Linked DNA regions of Homo sapiens: region 2 is linked to region 1. Evidence: promoter capture Hi-C in human tissues and cell types (Jung and others, 2019). All regions are on one chromosome and are shown on one strand. Each heading gives the region's core, a stretch centred on a gene start or on the middle of the fragment in contact. The rest is flanking DNA. Distances are from core to core; before and after follow the strand shown. Region 1 holds the start of HAND1 (heart and neural crest derivatives expressed 1). Region 2 has its middle 53 kb from the start of HAND1.

Region 1 (6,521 bases), core at 1,814-4,313:
TTAGATAGAAACAAAAAGGAAGGAAAAGAAGGAAGAAAAGAGAGAGACAGAGAAAGAGAGAAAGTGTTTCCCTTGGAACTAAACAGGAAGTGCAGCGACAAAAAGAAAAATAAAATAAAACCACCACGATTCGAAGAACAAAGGGCAGCCTTTCATCTTCCTGCGTCTGGTTCTCTTTCTCAGGCAGAAAAGAATTGATTCCTTATTGCATTTTAATTAGAGAAGACGGCGTCGGGGCGGATCATATGGAGGGACAAGAGAGAAAGAGCCAGATAGGGAAATGGAGATAGGGCTGAGGTTCTAAATTCGCTCCAAAAGGGTGGAAGAGTGCGTCTTTGAGCCCTTGGGTTCGACAGTCCCTCCTTCTTGCATGTTGCCGCCAAGGGCCGCCCTCGGTTGGGCTGGGGGTGGATATATATATATTTCTCTTTCTCTTAATGTATTAAAAAAAATCAAAGGACATTGCACGTGCGATCCAAGTGTGTGGTTGCAGCCGACGACCTGCCGGCGCTCAGCAGAAGCTCCGCGGGATGCGTAGCACCAGTCGCCGGAGCCCAGAGCCTGGCGTTCGCCGCTGCCTTCCTCTCCTCCCGGGGCTTCAGGAGTGGCTGGCCTGGCCAGGTCCTCGGCGCGGGCCTCGGCTCACTGGTTTAACTCCAGCGCCCAGACTTGCTGCGGCCAGCCGGTGCGTCCTTTAATCCTCTTCTCGACTGGGCCCAGGGCAGGAGGAAAACCTTCGTGCTGCTGCTGCCAAAGGACACACAGAAGAAAAGAGGCGGGAGAGACAGGTTTTAATTTTTCTGCTCCGATCGCCCGGCATGGGGTAAGATGAGGAGGAGGGGAAGGTGTCGGGAGCAGTAACTGGGAGTCTTTAAATAAGTGACGGATTTCTGTTTGCGAAATAGGCAAACAGGCTCGTAAATTTGCCTTTATGCGCGGAGTTCCTGGGACCCGGGATGGGCTGGGCAGCTTCGGGAGGTTTGGTAAGGAAAATGTTCTGCGTCTGGTGAAACTGACGCGCGTTGATTTGGCTTTAGGACACCTAAGGGAGATCCCAGGATATTGGAAGGGAGGGGTGGAAATCCACGGTTCTCCCGCTCTCGCTGCACCCCACACACTTCCGCCAGCCTCCCAACCTGGTTTAAACATCAGGGCTTGGATGCAGGCTTGGGGCCCCCTAAGCCGGAGCTGGGAGCCTCAGATACGGAGGTAAAAGAGCGGGGAGTCGAGCTGGCCTAGCGTCCTCCTTCCCGCTCTTTCAGCAGGAACCAAGCGGTGCTACTTGAAGGAGGCGGCGACGCGTGGGGGCCGGGATCCGCCCAATAACAACTTCTTTCGAGGCGCCGCACCTCGAAAGAAGCCGGCCTGCACCATCCCCAGTCCGGGGCAGCCGTTTAGAGACTCGATGCCTATTTATCTTTCCCTCGTCCCTGGATGAGCTTTCGTCAGTTTACCACAGGCCCCCGCAGGTTGGATAAACCAGGTGGGGCGCTTCAGCTGGCTCCACTCCGCTACGGCCTTAAGCCCCCCAACCTAGAGAAACTGATTGGCCAGCCTGAAAACCCAGCGCTCAGAAGCCCCCAGCCCCGGACAGCCAGACCGAGTGCCAGGAAGTGTCACCCTAACCGGAGAGGATCAAGAAGGCCAAGACGAGACTGCGCTCTCCAAAGCTAAAAGAAGTGGCTCTTATTTACATGCAAAGCCACTGAAGTCGTCCTCAGAACCAGTCCATGGGGAGAACCAGAACTGGCCCTGGACTGAGTAGAAGACCCGATCTGTTTTACCTCACCTCCACCCTGGACTCCTCAGATAGGTGCTTTTCCTGCCCCGACCCACTCTGGGCCCTCAGTTTCCCTATTTATACAATGATGGAAGTAGACTAGCCGGTCCAGCAAAGGCCCTTTGAAAACAGGAACCGAGCCCGGGCACATAAATTCAAACTCAAAGTAAAGAACTTTAACACATATTCTTAACCTGGCTTCCAGGAGAGCCCAGGAATGAATCAGGACTTCTCCAAATTGGAAGCAAAACCTGTGGTGTGTGCATTTTTGGAGGGTCCGAGGCTCCAAACAGATTATTCACTCAGTATTACAAACACTCTCCCGTATTACAAATGAATTCTATGACGAATCTGCCTCCCTCCATGCACAGGATCGCACGCTGTGACCAACCATCTCAGAACTCTTCCCAACCTTTCCAAATCGGACACAGGACAACACAGCCTCCTTCGACTACCTGCATGGCCTGAGGCTGCTCACCGCTCCTGCACCCTTGGCTGGAGCATGCAAGCCCCAGGACTCACCAGCTCCCTTTTCCGCTTGCTCTCACGGCCGCCATCCGCCTTCTTGAGTTCAGCCTTGAAGGCCTCGGGATCGCCAGACTGTGCATCCTTGGCCAGCACGTCCATCAGGTAGGCGATGTAGCTGGTGGCTAGGCGCAGAGTCTTGATCTTGGAGAGCTTGGTGTCGGCCGGCACGTTGGGGATGCACTCGCGCAACTCCGCGAATGCGCTGTTAATGCTCTCAGTGCGTCTCCGCTCCTTCTTGGGTCCTGAGCCTTTCCGCCGGCCAAGACGGCCGCCAAGCGCCTCCAGCCGCCCGGGGCTCTGCCCAGGCCTGGCGTCAGGACCATAGGCGGTGGCGGCTGCAGCGGCCGCGGGCGGCGGCCCGCCCGCAGGGAAGTCCGGGGCAGCGTCAGCCGGGCTCAGCAGCCAGCTCTGGAAGTAGGGCCTTTCCTGATGACAGCGCGAGGCCGGACCGAAGAGGAAGGGTTCGTGGAGCATGGGGTGCGCAGGGTGCGGGTGGTGATGGTGGTGATGGTGTGCGTAGCTGCCCACGAGGTTCATGTTGGAGCGGCTACTGGCCTGCGCCGCCAGCCCTATTAACGCCGCTCCATGCGCCCCAGAGACTGCCGGGGGCCACCTGTGGGCTCTGGAGCCACTACTGGGCGCCGGCTTTGGGAGAGTCCGGGCAAGGCTGAAAATGAGACGCGCAGCCCACTGTCTTCTTACCGGTTTCTGCCGCGGGCGAGGTCGCCGAAGCCCAAAGACCTGTTTAACCCTTCTGCGGACTCCCCTGCGGATCTGGCTTATATAAGACCGCGGCTTTGATGTCAACCTCTCCCGGGAGCCAATGGCAGGGGGGCGGGGATAAGGAAAAGGGGGAGTGGCTATCCCAGGTTTTACGCTCAGCCCGCGCCACTCTAGTCCGCCAGCAGGGACTGGGAACCGGCCCCGCCTCTGCCCCTCCCACTCAGCTCCCTGCTCTGCGGGCTTAGGGGGGCGGGCTGCTGGGGGTGTTGAGGGGGCGGGCACGGGGACTACGTACTTGAGGCACAGGACGGCCAACGCCCTGGACTGTTGCTGCCACCCCCTCCCCACGGATCCAAGGAAAGGAATCCAGAATCACCAAGCGAAAAGAAGGCCTACACCTAGAGCCCGCCTTTTGATTTTACAGACAAGGAAACTGAGGCCCAGGGAAAGAAAGGTTCTTGTTTCTAGACTGTCTAGAAGTCTAAATAGGAATTCCAGCAGTTCCCAGTCCCGAGCTCCAACTGCTCTGCTCGGCGTCAGAGCTAGAAGATGAGAGGGCGCTGCTGAAGACAGGATAGGCCGCTAACGTTCTTCCCTAACACCTTCCAGCCCTCCGCCCCCACCCCCACCCCTTAGTCATCGGCCCTTTCTGGAGAGACTGGGAGCCGCTTGTGCACGGGGTCGTTACCAGCCCGCCAATTCTGACCCAGCCTCAGGCAGACGGGCACGCAGCTACTGACCAGCGAAGAAGCCTTTCGGAGGCAGGGGTAGGGGTGGGGCGGGAAGGAGGAGGCGGACTCCAGGCCCACGGGCATCGACGGGTTTGTTCCCGGCTTGAGGGTCTGAGATCCACTCCGGCCTCCCGGGTGCCTGATCCATTCCGAAGGCCAGCCCGGCTGGCGCAGAGACAGTCTGGCGTCCGCCTTGGGCCCGGGGCATCTGGCCAGCAGGTCTCCTCTGGTCTGTCCGCAGGACTCGCACCGAGACCTGGGAGCGCGGCTACGTCGGGCCGCTCTACCCAGATCATCACTCCTTAAGAATCTTTGGTTCTTTAAAGACACCGGCCCCGAAGCTCACACCTCGAGACACCAGCATTCGGCGTTAGACACACGCAGAGGGGACCAAGACTGCACAGCATCCGCGAGGCTCGCACAGGCAAACGCGACGTCCGGCATCTCTCACGCATCAGCGCAGAGGCGCGACTCGGCTGCACGACCCTCCGAGATTTCACCCCGGGGGTAGGGCCATTCCCTGCCAGCCGGACTCTCTCCACTGTGGGCTTTCCCCAGGCTCGCGTTGGAATCTGGGAATCCCGGAGTGGTGACGCTTCAAGCTGGGGACTCTCGGTCTTACCTCCCGCTGTGGTTCCTTTCTTGGCCGATGTCCACCTACCTGGGTCCCTCATTCTCTCAACCTTTCTCAGCTCAACGCCCCCTCCCTCGGTGTGGTAGAGGGAGTGTGCCTCTCTTCAAAGCAAAGTCGAGGGGAGGGGGAAAGGAGAAGTTAATGTGAGTGCTCTTTTTAGAAGGCAAATCATTCACCCATTCATTCAACAATTATTTATTGATGCCTACTATGTGCCTATCATAGTTACTAGTCCAAAGACAGAGGGAGAAAGGCCCATTCTCTCCTTGAACAGATATGGAACGTGAAGCCCAGAGAAGAAGAGCGATTTTCTCGAGGTCCGGTAGGGAGTGGATGAGTGGAATTCCACTCCTGGACAAGAGAGTGAATGAAGGGTGGGGGGTTACATACAGGAGTGACGGAGACAAAAGCCTGGGCCTGCTGGTTCCACCTGTGGGAGCTCAGCAGGGCTGTGGGCCCTGGAGGTGCATGGGGGGGTGGTGCAGGGAGGTCCTGGTTTCCTGCCCGAGGCGGGCTGGAAACCCCCCGCTCTCCCCGGCGCCTGGCGCCAGCAGCGCTGGGGTAGGGCAGAGCGCGGAGCCGGAGGCACGCGGGGAGGGAGCGCTGGGGGCCCGCTGCTGCGGCGGCTCTGCGGGGTCCCAAGCCTCCCTGGCCTGGAGGCATTCTAGAAAGAGCGCAGGTAGAGAGTAATTACGCTGTGGAGAGAAGGACCTCAACACACAATCCTCAACACACGCCCAGTCTTTGTCCTAATCCAAGTACAATCTGCAACAGTGCCTCTCAGAGCGGCACACTAGGCCCTCAGATTATACATTCACAGGTACATGCACAAGGGCTCACAAAACCTTGCCGCCGTACACAAAAGCCCGTATCTTCATAAGACGCCCAAAAGTATGTGTATTCTCACAGTAATACGCACAGCCACGGTACACACAGCATTCATGCATTCCTAGGATTTTACACATTGTCTCTCTGTCACCCACAGGGTACATACTCATCACGCTTCAGATGTGTTACACCTGGGAGCCGCTCCCAATCCTCCATTCAGGCATGCACAGAGACCAAAGTCATATGGTAGAAACACATAAATTCTGAATACTACACAAATGCAGGGTTTCACACATAATCTCATTGCCACAATTTAAACCAGCTTGTATCTTCCTAAGATTCTCCACAATTGTATTCGCAACACAAACTTCCAAAATCCCATCATACATTTTGTATATTCTCAGTGTCACCGCTAAGCCTTCAGTGCACAAGTACACAGTCACAATATCTACTACATATGCACAGGTGCTCACAAATAGAGGTTCTCACATGCTCACACATAACACACATACAAATGTGTGGCCCACGCGCCTGCCCATATGAGTCCTAGTTGCTTTTATGATGTTACACAGATCACTCAAGGTTGTATACATCCCCCATATATCTGGCCTGGTTAGTGTGGTGGGGAATGCATTATCAGTACTGGGTGAGGAGTCCCAGTCCTATGACACCCCTTGAGGGCCCCTGAGACTACCTGGCAGCCCCCCATGGGTCTTAAAGAGCAGGGTGTCTCCAGCTGCCAGTGATGTGGAAAGCACTGTTCCCCAACCTAGAGAAGGTATTCAGTGTCATTTTTCAAGCGGTGCCCCCACCAGAAACTCAGCCCTAAGGGATCTCCTGAGGCTTGGGGCTGGGGCAACCCCCAGCAGGATGACGTCGGGGGAGACTGCAGTACAACTAGGCTCTAGACTGCCTTCTCAGAGACCCCAAAATGCTTTACTGTAGTCCGTGGAGAGCAGCAGAACTCCCGGGATGGTGGGGACCTTGTAAGGTTGTTCTCTATCTCTGCCCAAGCTATATTGTAGGAGGAGGTCTGAGACCTAGGATTTTGGCTAAAATTGCTTTAGGCTGGCAGGCAAGAGATGTGACAGGCAAGAGTCCTGGCTTTCCCTATCTAGCACCTCTTTGTTCCTTTCCAGTCCGAGCCTCAGTTTCCCCAGTTGCAGAAGAAGGGAATAGGATTGATAGTCTGGAATTCTGGAATTCCCAGCTCCTCACTATTGCAGGGACCCTGCCCTGGTTCCTCCTGGGACTTAGTGCTCAGCTCAGGGATCCCTACAGAAGGACTCCGCTTTCC
Region 2 (6,521 bases), core at 3,001-5,500, 54 kb after region 1:
TTCTAAGGTCCCATGCAGGGCTTGCTCCAGAGCAGTACACAGCATGATGAAGGGAAGAGAATAGATTTGGGAACAGAGAGACAGGTGCCTGAATTCAGTCTCTACCTGCTTATTCACTCCTTCAAATTTTTTGGAGTACCTACCATGGGTGTGACACAGTGCTAATTACTGGGAGGGCAATGGGGAGCTGAAGGAGGCAGGCATTGGTCAAAATATTATACAGATAAATGTAATGTAAGTGCAGTAAGTGCAACACATTGGTTCCCAATGTAGGGACAGAGAATTGTTCTGGTCAGGGAGGTCAGCATAGCCATCATCCCCCAGGAATGATGATCAAGCTGATGTTGAAGAAAGAGGGGAGGTTAACTTGGCAAAGGGAAAGTAAAAGCATCCCAGGCAGAGGAAACAGCCTATGCAAAGGTCCTGGGGCTGGATGGAGCGGGAGCACTTGAGAAACATCAGCGTGGCTGCAGTACAGAGTACCAGGTGAGGCGTGCTCAGCCAAGAGAAGCTGGAGAGCTGGGCAGGACCAAGCAGGCAGAGCTCACGGGCCCATTAGAATTTGGGCCATAATTGTTAGAGCAATGGGAATCCATTAAAGGCTTTTAAGCAGGGAGTGATATCCATTTTGATAAGCTCACTGGCTGCAAGTCAAGTGTGAAAGAAAGGAACATGAGGGGGGACTTCCTTTACAGAAACCAGAACATGCAATGAAGTCACTAAAATCAGATCGTTGTGATATTAGAAAGGCATAGACAAATAGATCTGTGGAACAGGATAAATAATCCAGAATTAGATCTCAGGATATAGATGTTAGCATTTGACAAAAGAAGTATCTCATCACAGTGGAAAAAGGATAGTTTATTTCACAAATGGTGCTGGCCTGATAATGTAACCCTCTGGAATAAATAAAATGAACCCTCATCTTAAACCACAAAATCGGGTGGTGGGAGGGGGGAAGGATAGCATTAGGAGATACACCTAATGTAAATGACGAGTTAACAGGTGCAGCACACCAACATGGCACATGTATACCTATGTAACAAACCTGCACGTTGTGCACATGTACCCTAGAACTTAAAGTATATTAAAAAAAAAACTTGGAAAAATAAATAAATAAAGCTTGCCTACCATGAGTCATTAAAATGTCAAAAAAAAACCCACAAAATCCAAAATTTCAGATAGATCAAAAATGTAAATGTAAGAATTAAAATAATACAAAATAATGTAAGATATTCTAGGACACTGTATGTTTAACATAGAGCAGGGGCCAGCAAACTACAGCACATGGGCCCCATCCAGCTGGCTGGCTGACTTAAAAAAAAAAACAGTTTTATTAAAATATAATGCACATACCATATAATTCACTCACTTGAAGTATACAGGTCAATGATTTTTAGTATATTCTTAGATACATGCAACCATCACCAAAGTCAATTGTAGAACATTTTCATCACTTCAGAAAGAAACTCCATACCTCTTAGCTATCAACCCCCATTCCCTATCCTCCCCAGCCCTAGGCAACCACCAATCTACTTTCTGTTTCTATAGATCTGCCAATCCTGGACATTTCATATGAACAGAGTCATATTATAAGTGATCATCTGCAACTGTTCTTTTTTCTCTTAGCATGTTTTCAAGATTCATCCATGTTGTAGCAAGTATCAGAACTTCACTCCTTTTCATGGATGAATAATATTCCATTTTATGGATATCCCACATTTTGCGTATCCATTCATCCATTGATGGACATTTAGTTTGTTTCCTCCTTTTGGCTATTATGATTAGTGCTGCTATGAACATTCAGGTACCAGTATTTGTGTGAACTATGCTGCCATTTTTCTTGGGCATTTACCTAGAAGTAGAATTGCTGCTGCCTATTTTTTTTTTTTTTTTTTTTTTTTGAGACAGAATCTCGCACTGTTGCCTGTGCTGGAGGGCGGTGGCACGATCTCGGCTCACTGCAACCTCCGCCTCCCAGGTTCAAGAGATTCTCCTGCCCCAGCCTCCTGAGTAGCTGCGATTACAGGTACCCGCCACCACACCCAGCTAATTTTTTTGTTTGTATTTTTAGTAGAGATGGGTTTTCACCATGTTGGCCAGGCTGGTCTCAAACTCCTGACCTCTTGACCTGCCTGCCTCAGCCTCCCAAAGTGGTGGGATTAAAGGCATGAGCTACCACGCCCGGCCTTCTGCCTGCCTATTTTTATAAACAATGTTTTATTCAAGCACATTCGTTGGCATATTTATGGCTGCTTTTGTGTCATGATGCCAGAGTTGAGTGGTTATGACAGAGACCATACCATACACCCCTCAAAGCCTGAAATAGTTACTTGCTGGATTTTTATGCAAAAATTTCCCAACTTCTGGTCTAGAGGTTGGGAAGACCTTATTTGTCAAAGAAAAGCGAGATTGGCCTGGTGCAGTGGCTTATGCCTATAATCCCAGCACTTTGGGAGGCTGAGGTGGGCGGATCACCTCAGGTCAGAAGTTTGAGACCAGCCTGGCCAACATGGTGAAACCCCGTCTCCACTAAAAATACAAAATTAACTGGGCGTGGTGGTGGGTGCCTGTAATCCCAGCTACTCAGGAGGCTGAGGCAGGAGAATCTCTTGAATCTGGGAGGTGGAGGTTGCAGTGAACCAAGATCACGCCACTGCACTCCAGCCTGGGCGACAGAGCGAGACTCCATCTCAAAAAAAAAAAAAAAAAAAAAAAAAAAGGCGGTGGCTCACGTTCGTAATCCCAGCACTTTGAAAGGCCGAGGAGGGTGGCAGGAGTTTGAGACCAACCTGGCCAAAATGGCAAAACCCCGTCTCTACTAAAAATACAAAAATGAGCTGGGCATGGTGGCGCATGCCTGTAACCCCAGCTAAACAGGAGGCTGAGGCAGAAGAATCACTTGAACCTGGGAGGCGGAGGTTGTAGCGAGACGAGATCGTGCCACTGCACTCCATCCTGGGAAATAGAGACTCCGTCTCAAAAAAAAAAAAAAAAAAGAAAAGAAAAGAAAAGAAAAGAGAGATTACTTAAAAATTAAATTTGACTATATATTTATAAATCAAATCTTTAGTATGGCAAAAGATACTAAAAACAAACTCAGTGGGCAAACACTAGAGTTTGAAAAATAGCACTGTCTACTAAAGACAGAGAAAAGTTTCCTATCTTATGTCACCGACAGTCCTGGCAAGAGGTAGGTGGCACGATCAACTGGGGTAGTTTAAGGCAATATAATGAAGGGACAATACAGAGGGGTGTGCAGGGTTTAACAAATGCATCCAGGGACCTGCACAACCGCAGAGCTGGTATCAGAAGGAAATAATTTCCACCAAGGCCAAAAGGAGTTGGGATATCAAGGAGTTTTCAGAGCCTGGAAAAGACTATATGGCGGGTGGAGGGCCAGAAGACAGGAGCTGCAGAGGAATGAAGCCGATTTATGATGCCCATCAAGGGCAGGAAAAGGGCTTGGGTGTAAATACCCCAATCTCTCTTTCCTCTTGCCCAGTGATCTTCAGGTGTGCCTCACACTGGCCAAACCCAACCAGAAGCTGGCTATACAGTCCGTATGGGATAAGAGGCACATAGCAGATGGAGAAAGCAGAGCCTGATCTGGAAGGACAGATGGAAGACATCCAGCATGCAGCCTGAAAGGAGAAGCCATCACAACAGAAAAATGGGTAAAGGTGATAACTAGACAGTCAACGGAACGACCAAAAACATGAAAAATATACTCAAATTTATATTAACAGTTATATACTGTTATATTAACAGTCAGCAAAGTGATCAAGTTTGTTTGTTTGTTTGTTTGTTTGTTTGAGACAGAGTCTTGCTCTGTCAGCCAGACTGGAGTGCAGTGGCACAATCTCGGCTCACTGCAACCTCCCCGTCCCAGGCTCAAGCAATTCTCCTGCCTCAGCCTCCCAAGTAGCTGGGTTTACAGGCGTGTGCCATCATGCCTGGCTAATTTTTATATATGTTTTTTAGTAGAAATGGGGTTTCACCATGTTGGCCAGGCTGGTCTTGAACTCCTGACCTCAGGTAATCCACCTGCCTTGGCCTCCCAAAGTGCTGAGATTACAGGCGTGAGCCACCGAGCCCAGCCGTGATCAAGTTTTATATCTGACAGAGCTCTCACACCTATGGCTGGTGGGGAGGTAAAGAAAGTGGTACTCCCACATATTGCTGGTGGAAACGTGCAATGTTACAGACATTTTGGAAAGCAGCCATTCAACTCCTGCAAACCTACCCCACAAAAATAAAGACCCCTTGGCTGAGCGAGGTGGCTCATGCCTGTAATCCCAGCACTTCGGGAGGCTGAGGCAGGCAGATCACCTGAGGTCAGGAGTTCGAGACCAGCCAGACCAACATGGTGAAATCACATGTCTACTAAAAATACAAAAATTAGCCAGGTGTGGTGGTGCAGGCCTGTAATCCCAGCTACTCAGGAGGCTGAGGCAGGAGAATCACTTGAACCCAGGAGGCAGAGGTTGCAGTGAACCAAGATCGTGCCACTGCATTCCAGCCTGGGTGACAGAGTGAGACTCCATCTCAAAAAATTTAAAAAAATATATATATATAAAAAATGCCCCAATAAAGAAAGACTTATGTACAGCAAAATTGCAGTAGATACTGCCATATTCATAGCTGCCCATCATCTTTTGAATAGCCTTTCTTTATAATTGGGGAAATCACCTCCTCAGTTCAAGAATTTCCATTGACATTCCAGCCTCTTTTGCAGCTAGGATGTGGCCATTCCAGCAGGCTCTGCCAATTAGATGCATCCTGTGAGACTTCTCCCATTTTGTGTTAACATGGGACCAGACAAGAGTCCAGTTCTGGTGGCTGCAGCACCAGAGGCAGTTTCCCAGGGACTGCAAGGTGGAATTCCAGGTGTAGAGGTGGCATGGGTGGAGCAGGAGAGAGCTTCGTGAGACCAAAGCCAGTGAGCTTATCAGGCTGTTCTGTGGCATGGTTTAGGGCTTTGGTCCTAGCAACTGAGCCTCCAGGTCAATTAAACAGCATCAGCTTCTGCTGCCTCTAAGAACTCTACCTAATAGTGCCACATTGCTCCCAATGGCAAAAAAATGAAAGCAGACAATGACCATCAACAAAGAGATGACCAGGCTGGGCATGGTGGCTCATGTTTGTAATCCCAGCACTTTGGGAGGCTGGGGTGGGAAGATTGCTTGAATCCAGGAGTTCAAGACCAGCCTGGGCAACATAGTGAGACCCCATCTCTTAAAAAAAAATTAGCCAGGTCTAATGGCACTCTCTTATAGTCCCAGCTACTCAGGAGGCTGAGATGGGAGGATCCCTTGAGCCCAGGAGTTCAAGGCTTCAGTGAGGGGGTGATTGCACAACTGTACTCCAGCCTGGGTGATAGAGTGAGACTCTGTCTCAGAACAACAAAAATAAAAACAAGATGGTGACTGAATACACTGATACATCCACACAGTGAAATATTATGCAGCCATTAAAAAGAAAGAATTAGAGCTATACTCGATGACTTGGAAAGATGTCTATGAAGTGTTGTTGGGTGAAGAAGGTAAGATGCAGAAAACTATAATATTGTTTTAAATGTTTTTATAGGATGGTCCCATTTTAAAAAAAGAAGCAATAATGAGTAAATTCTGTATGTGTAAATGTGCATACAAATATGTGCTCAGGATTGAATGAGTACAGATAAAAACATGGAATGACACACAGCAGGTCGTTGGCATGAGTGTGGGTTGCTGTGTGAGGCGAGGGGGTGGAAAAGGAGGAGCCAAACCAAAAAGAAAAGAAAGAAAACTGTACTGACTAAATAAAGGGTATTTCTGATCATTTTTAGGCATTTGTGTAAAATTGTATTTATGGATATGCATGCATGTATTGTAGGTATATGTATAAACAAATTACACTGAAACTTTAAAAATTTTTATTTTATTTTAATTTATTTATTTTTATTTTATTTTATTATTTTTTTTGAGGCACAGTCTCGCTCTGTTGCCCAGGCTAGAGTGCTGTGGCACAATCTTGGCTCACCGCAACCTCCGCCTCCCAGGTTCAAGCTATTCTCCTGCCTCACCCTCCCGAGTAGTTTAGATTACAGGTGCCCGCCACCACACCCAGCTAGTTTTGTATTCTTAGTAGAGACGGGGTTTCACCATGTTGGCCAGGCTGGTCTCGAACTAACAACCTCAGGTGATCTGCCTGCCTCAGCCTCCCAAAGTGCTGGGATTACAGGCGTGAGCCACCGTGCCCAGCCTAATTTTTATTTTTTAGGGACAGGGTCTCACTCTGTTGCCCAGGCTGGAGTACAGTGACCATAGCTCACTACAGCCTCGAACTTCTGTGCTCAAGCCATCTTCCTCCTCAGCCTCCAGAATAGCTGGTACTACAGGCGCAAGCCACTGTCCCCAGCTGAAAATATTTTCAGCCAAAAAGTCATTGGCTACAGTACTGAGGTCAGAGTGGTGACAGGGAGACCAGTTGGGAAGTTATGGTGTTTACACAGGCAAGAGGGAATGGTGGCTTGGATT

The links. Contacts are between HindIII fragments. The study calls those that stand out against the background at their distance.
Region 2: a contact is called between a fragment that was not itself captured here and the fragment with the promoter of HAND1 in region 1, in 1 of the 25 tissues and cell types used here (neural progenitor cells).

The regions. Positions count from the first base shown.
Region 1 is chr5:154,475,164-154,481,684 of GRCh38, forward strand. It overlaps HAND1 (heart and neural crest derivatives expressed 1), which reads right to left and starts at 3,064. Exons shown (of 2, transcript NM_004821.3): 1 at 2,303-3,064; 2 at 1-747. The coding sequence starts at 2,845. The coding sequence ends at 643. RefSeq lists silencers at 542-729, 4,988-5,037 and enhancers at 884-1,738, 4,512-5,021. The HindIII fragment of the contact is 8,038 bases long and covers 1-6,521 here.
Region 2 is chr5:154,527,786-154,534,306 of GRCh38, forward strand. No RefSeq gene overlaps it. Among named protein-coding and RNA genes, the nearest start is that of HAND1, 53 kb to the left of the region's middle. The HindIII fragment of the contact is 7,848 bases long and covers 327-6,521 here.